Linked DNA regions of Homo sapiens: region 1 is linked to region 2. Evidence: promoter capture Hi-C in human tissues and cell types (Jung and others, 2019). All regions are on one chromosome and are shown on one strand. Each heading gives the region's core, a stretch centred on a gene start or on the middle of the fragment in contact. The rest is flanking DNA. Distances are from core to core; before and after follow the strand shown. Region 1 has its middle 100 kb from the start of TBX5-AS1. Region 2 holds the start of LHX5 (LIM homeobox 5).

Evidence for each region. Contacts are between HindIII fragments. The study calls those that stand out against the background at their distance.
Region 1: a fragment that was not itself captured here is called in contact with the fragment with the promoter of LHX5 in region 2 in 1 of the 25 tissues and cell types used here (dorsolateral prefrontal cortex).

The regions. Positions count from the first base shown.
Region 1 is chr12:114,508,559-114,511,437 of GRCh38, reverse strand. No RefSeq gene overlaps it. Among named protein-coding and RNA genes, the nearest start is that of TBX5-AS1, 100 kb to the right of the region's middle. The HindIII fragment of the contact is 9,535 bases long and covers 1-2,879 here.
Region 2 is chr12:113,470,498-113,473,371 of GRCh38, reverse strand. It overlaps LHX5 (LIM homeobox 5), which reads left to right and starts at 1,501. Exons shown (of 5, transcript NM_022363.3): 1 at 1,501-2,046. The coding sequence starts at 1,874. It overlaps LHX5-AS1 (LHX5 antisense RNA 1), which reads right to left and starts at 1,369. Exons shown (of 2, transcript NR_126425.1): 1 at 1,290-1,369. RefSeq lists an enhancer at 1,619-2,419. The HindIII fragment of the contact is 9,096 bases long and covers 1-2,874 here.

The sequences.
Region 1 (2,879 bases), core at 329-2,828, 1.0 Mb before region 2:
TCCACTCCCCACTGCTTTTCCTACCCTCTGGCAACCATCATTCTACCCGCTATCTTCACGAGTACAGTTGTTTTCATGTTAAACTCACATTAATAAGTGAGAACACACAAAGTTTGTCTTTCTGTGCCTGGCTCATTTCACTTAATATAATGATCTCCAGTTCCATCCATGTTGGTGCAAATGACAGGATCTCATTCTTTTTTGTGGCTGAATAGTACTCCATCATGTATGTGTACCACATTTTCTTTATCCATTCGTTTGTTAGCAGATGCTTAAGTTGCTTCAAATTTTGGTGGTCGTGAATAGTGCTGCAATAAACATGGAAGCACAATGTGCATTCAATCTTTACAATAGTAAGTAGCAATATTATTCTCATTTTGTAGATAAAGTGGAGCCATAGAGATTTAAGATCACATGTTCATACAGATTTATATCCGAATTAGCCTGACGCAATATCTCCTTACTATAAACTATGCATCTTGACACTTGATTTTATTCCTTAGAGCATTATAATGCTTATACTGTACACCGCATTCACTTGCCTTATGTTGCTCTCTATTTTTTTTCAAGGATGTCAAACTTCCTCCCAGCCATTCGGGGGTACCTTGAGGTCTGGGACTAAGCTGCTTTTCTCTCGTCTCTGGTGAAGAGATACAAATGAATACTTATTAAACGTAACTCAGAATTAACTATTTATCTCTTTGCTTCTGACATGGAAATGTAGAGAAGTTATAAACTACCTCATACATTTAGATAAATTGTTTTTCTACAAATATTCTATGGGGTTTAAAAATAACAGCAAAAGATACAGCCATCCCTCACAACTGTAATGGCAATAAGGAAATATGCATTCGTGAAATTTATTAATAATTTCCTATCTCCAGAGAGTCAAGAATTTTAACTGTATTGTTTTTCCAGATCTGCTGACAAGTTGCAAACTTCATTTGAGTGGGGCTCCACATTCTCTTCCACTTCACCACTGACAAGACCATTTGCAAACAAATCCAGTCCCACCAATGGGATGTTCTATATGCAATTTTTTAAAATTATACTTTAAGTTCTGGGATACATGTGCAGAACGTGCAGGTTTGTTACATAGGTATACACGTGCCATGGTGGTTTGTCGCACCCATCAACCCGTCGTCTACATTAGGTATTTCTTAAATGCAATTTTAAAATCTAGTTCCCAGAGACCATAATTCCATCTTTTCTCTTTTGTGCCTTCGTTCCTCCAAGGAGTAGACTAGTGTGGGAAACAGAGCTAAATTAAGGATTAGAATACCTGGTCTCTTTGATTTTTTTTTTAAATCTTCTTTTAAACTATAAAAAATATTCTTTAAAAATTATAAATACATATATTCAGAAAATGTGTAGCTCAATGACCTACTGCAAAATCAACACCCACATAACCACCACTGAGGATTTGTGTGAGACACCGGGAAAGTCACTTGAGTGACCAGTGTCCCCAGCTGTTTGAAAAGGATCTTCTTAAACCATAGTACGTTTTATTTATTTATTTATCTAATTTTATTTTTTAAGTTCCGGGGTACATGTTCAGGATGTGTGGGTTTGTTACATAGGCAAACGTTCGCCATGGTGGTTTGCTGCACCTATCAACCCATCACTTAGGTGTTAAGCCCAGCATGCATTAGCTCTTTTTCCTAATGCTCTCACCCCACCCCATCCTCCCCCGACAGTCCCCAGCATGTATTGTTCCCTTCCCTGTGTCCATGTGTTCTCATTGTTCAGCTCCCACTTATAAGTGAGAACGTGGCGTTTGATTTTCTGTTCCTGCGTTAGTTTGCTGAGGATAATGGCTTTCAGCTTCATCTATGTCCCTGCAAAGGACATGTTCTCATTCCTTTTTCTGGCTGTATAGTATTCCGTGGTATATATGTACCACATTTCTTTCTTCAGTCTGTCATTGATTGATGGCCATTTGGGGTGTTTCTATGTCTTTGCTATCGTGAATAGTGCTGCAATGAACATGGGTGTGCATGTGTATTTATAAGAGAATGATTTATATTCCTTTGGATATATACCCAGTAATGGGATTGCTGGGTCAAATGGTATTTCCGGTTCTAATCATAATATGTTGTTTTTAATTACTACCTCCTACTCCATGAGTTGGATGAACTATAATTTATCAATGTCTGTATTGTTGGCCCGTTAGGTGGTTGTTTTCTTCTTTATTACGAATAACCTTCTAAGAAGTAGCTTGTTCCTCAATCTTGTTCATATTCATAGTGATTCCTTAGGAAAAACTCCTAGAAAATGAATTTCTAGGTCAAAATGGAATGATTTTAGAGCCTTCGCAAGGCACACAATTAGTATGAAGAAGAAAAAAATGTTCTATTACCCGAGTCTATTTTGCCAAATAAATTTGAGTAATAGAAAACATTTACTCATTGAATGAAGATGCTGTTTTTGGGAACAGACAATCCAGAGGGAAGCATGCAGGCAAAGAATGGTCTACGTTGGAGGTAAAAATATTTCAAGTTGCCATTTTCAAAAATTGTAGTTTAGTTCAAACGCTCTTGCTTCCACAAGAGGCTTTGAAACAGTTTAACATGAAAGCACCAGCATCATGAAGTCTAAAGCCACTCCAAGCAGAGCACAGTGGCCACAGCCAAGTTGCAAAATTGCTTTTTAAAAGCACTCAACACCCAGCTCATGGTGAAAAATGTCTTTTAATGTCCAGCCAAGACTCGGCCGCTAGAGGGCACTAACAATACATATTTCCAGGCAGTACCAACACCGCATGAACCGAGGTTGGTTTTCTGTCCCTTTCCATCCCATCAGCCAGAAACACAAAAGGACAATGGCCCTGCAAGCTGCCCCAAACCAGTGGAAATCTTCTAGCAAATAGGCCAGAACCT
Region 2 (2,874 bases), core at 252-2,751:
CACATAGGCACAGACCAACAAAAATAAAAGTGCACACAGTGATAAACACAAACATTAGCAGGACCATACACAATTACAAACACACGAATCTGCACACACGAAAACGCACACGCAGAAATTTACTCACAGGATTGATGGTACTAACACAATAAACAGATGCAAAAATGGAATTCTCAAACAGCGAGTATACACTAACAAGCTCAGGAAACACACCCAAACAAACATTCACAGCCAAGTGCTGGCACAAACCCCTCCAGCTCCAGCCCTTGGTCCCAGGCCCTACTCCCTCAGCCCCCTTTCCAGAAGCGAAAGGCAAATCCTGGTTGCCCATTCCCGGCTTCCCCAACTAGGATCCCTGGTGGCCACGCTGGCCCCAGGGGAAAGGAGGCCTGGTCCCTTCTCCTACTCAGACCCACACACCCCCTCCTCACGCACACCTGCCAACATCCCCCCTCCCCCTTAACACACACACACTCTCTCTCCTCACACTCTGGGCGCCCTGCCGAGCACGGAACATACGTGCGCCGCTTCTCCTGCGCCCAATGAGGGGACGAACTTGCACACCCAGCCCGCACGGCGTGAATACAAACAGCGCTCTCATAGTCGCTGGTGTCCCCCGCCTCAGCCGTACGACCCACTCACCACAGTGCCCCATAGGCTGACCTGGAATCTGGAAGGTGCAGCGAGGAAAGGAGAGACGTGGTGAGTGCCACCTCCGAGCTGTCTGCGGGAAGACCCGTCCACCCTGAATCTCCCCCTGTCCACATCTCCCTCAGAGCCCCGTGAGCAGCGCACTCAGGCCTGAAACTCTGGAGTTCGGGACCAGGCCAAATGGCACCCCTCCTGCTCCCCCGCCTCCCCACCCTGGGCCTGGGCCTGGGCTCGGCGGCCGGGCGGGGAAAACTACCCAGGCCGCGCGGTCTCCACTAGCTCTCTCCATGAGAAAGGCCCGGCTGGGCCCCAGCCCCGTGTATGACAAAAAGAAGCCGGGGCCGGCTCCAGGAGCCGGGAGAACCGCGCTGACGCAGCTTCAGGGCGCAGAGGGGGCGCGGGGGTGGGGGAATCCAATCTGGGCTGGCTGGGCTGGAGAAGGGGAGCGAAGTGTGGGGCGTGGGGCAACTTCTGCAAGTTCCAGGGATGGCGAAGGGGGCAGGGGTACCTCCCGGACTAGGCCTTGGAACCCGTGACCCCCAAATATTTGTGAGGAGAAAGAGAGAGGAAGAGAGACGCAATTTTCGTTTCGCGCTGCCCCCGCCCCGTCAGCCCCAAACTGGAAGGTAAATACTTACTTAGCCTCCGAACCAGGTACAAGCTAATACTCAACAATACTGATGCCTTGTTTTTTTTGCTCTGTCCGGACAGCAACGCTGTAGCCAATTTAGATATGCTATAAATTTAAGAGGTTGCCATGGCCACGGTGCGCCCATTGGCCGCTGGGCCCCCTACGTGCAGCGCCACGTCACCAAATCTGAATAAGGATGCGCGAATTACGCGGCGACCAGACAAAGATGAGGATCCGGACCGCTTGAAAGTGGGGGAAAGTGCCGGCGCCTCCGCCACCGGGGAAAGCCGCTCCGCAGCGCCGAGGCCAGCAGCCACCCGAGATACCTGGGGAAGCCCGGAACAGGCGCCGGGGCGTGCGGCCCGTGGCATGAGGTTGTGAACGCCACCCGCCCCCCACCACCCCACTCCGGGCAGCCCAGCGCCAGGCCAGAGATTGCCCAAGGACTGGACCGGCTGAGTCTTGGTCCGGACCAGACTCGCCCTGCAGCTGCTGAGACAAGAGGCGAAGGGCAGCGGAGGGCCCGGCAGGCCCGAGGGCCAGGGGCCCAAAGGGAGGGCAAGGCGGCCGAAGCCGCCGGGGCGCGGGGCTATGATGGTGCACTGCGCCGGTTGCGAGCGGCCCATCCTCGACCGCTTTCTGCTGAACGTGCTGGACCGCGCGTGGCACATCAAATGTGTTCAGTGCTGCGAGTGCAAAACCAACCTCTCGGAGAAGTGCTTCTCGCGCGAGGGCAAGCTCTACTGCAAAAATGACTTTTTCAGGTAAGAGGCCGCGCCGCTCTGCTGCCTGCGCGCCCACCCTGCGCGCGCTCCACTGGGGCGCTGGGGAAGGGGATACCCCCATCCCCATCCCAGCCTCCCCGGATCACAAGCTTAGATGGGGAGCGGGCAGCACTTTGCTCTCCTCCTGTCCTTGGTCCAGGAAAGGTCCCGAGCCCAGGCGGAGGAAGAAGGACGCTGCTTCGCTGCCTCACGTTGGCTCGAGGCCGGCTCAGAGCGCTGGCGGGGCAGAGGGAGGAAGCCCTGACAAACTTGCTATCCACTCCTCTCCGCCCCTTCCAAGCAGCTGCAACCCCAAGACAGAAGCTTCAAGCCCCGTCCCGAGAGAGAGGAAGGATTTTTGCATGAGTTAGAGACGCCTGAAGGCTTCTCGCTCCAGGCAGAATGTGTGAGCCCATCGGCCGCAATCCCAAACAGAAACTTCTCAGCTCCAGAGGGGGCCCAGCGAGGAAGGTCTCCCCTGGTGATGGGAGGAGAGAACCTCCCCCACCCACCTCCCAACCCCTTAAACATTTCCTCCCATGTTGAAAAGTAGAAACGAAATCGAGGCTGAGAATCAGGACCTCTGGGGTCTAGACTGGGCTGTGGCACCTCCCCAGCCCCCCTACCCCTGTGGGCCCTGTGGCTGGCCAGGGCAGATCACCTCTCTGGGCCTCAGTTTCCCCAGCCTGGAAGCCACTGGAGTTTGGGGCAGCTGAGCCCTACCTGTTTCCTCTGGGCACCCAGAGCCGGCTTTGTGAACAGGAATTCCCCGCGCTGAGGAATGGGGGCGTGAATCACGCCACAGAGAAAGGCAGCCTGCCGGCCCCA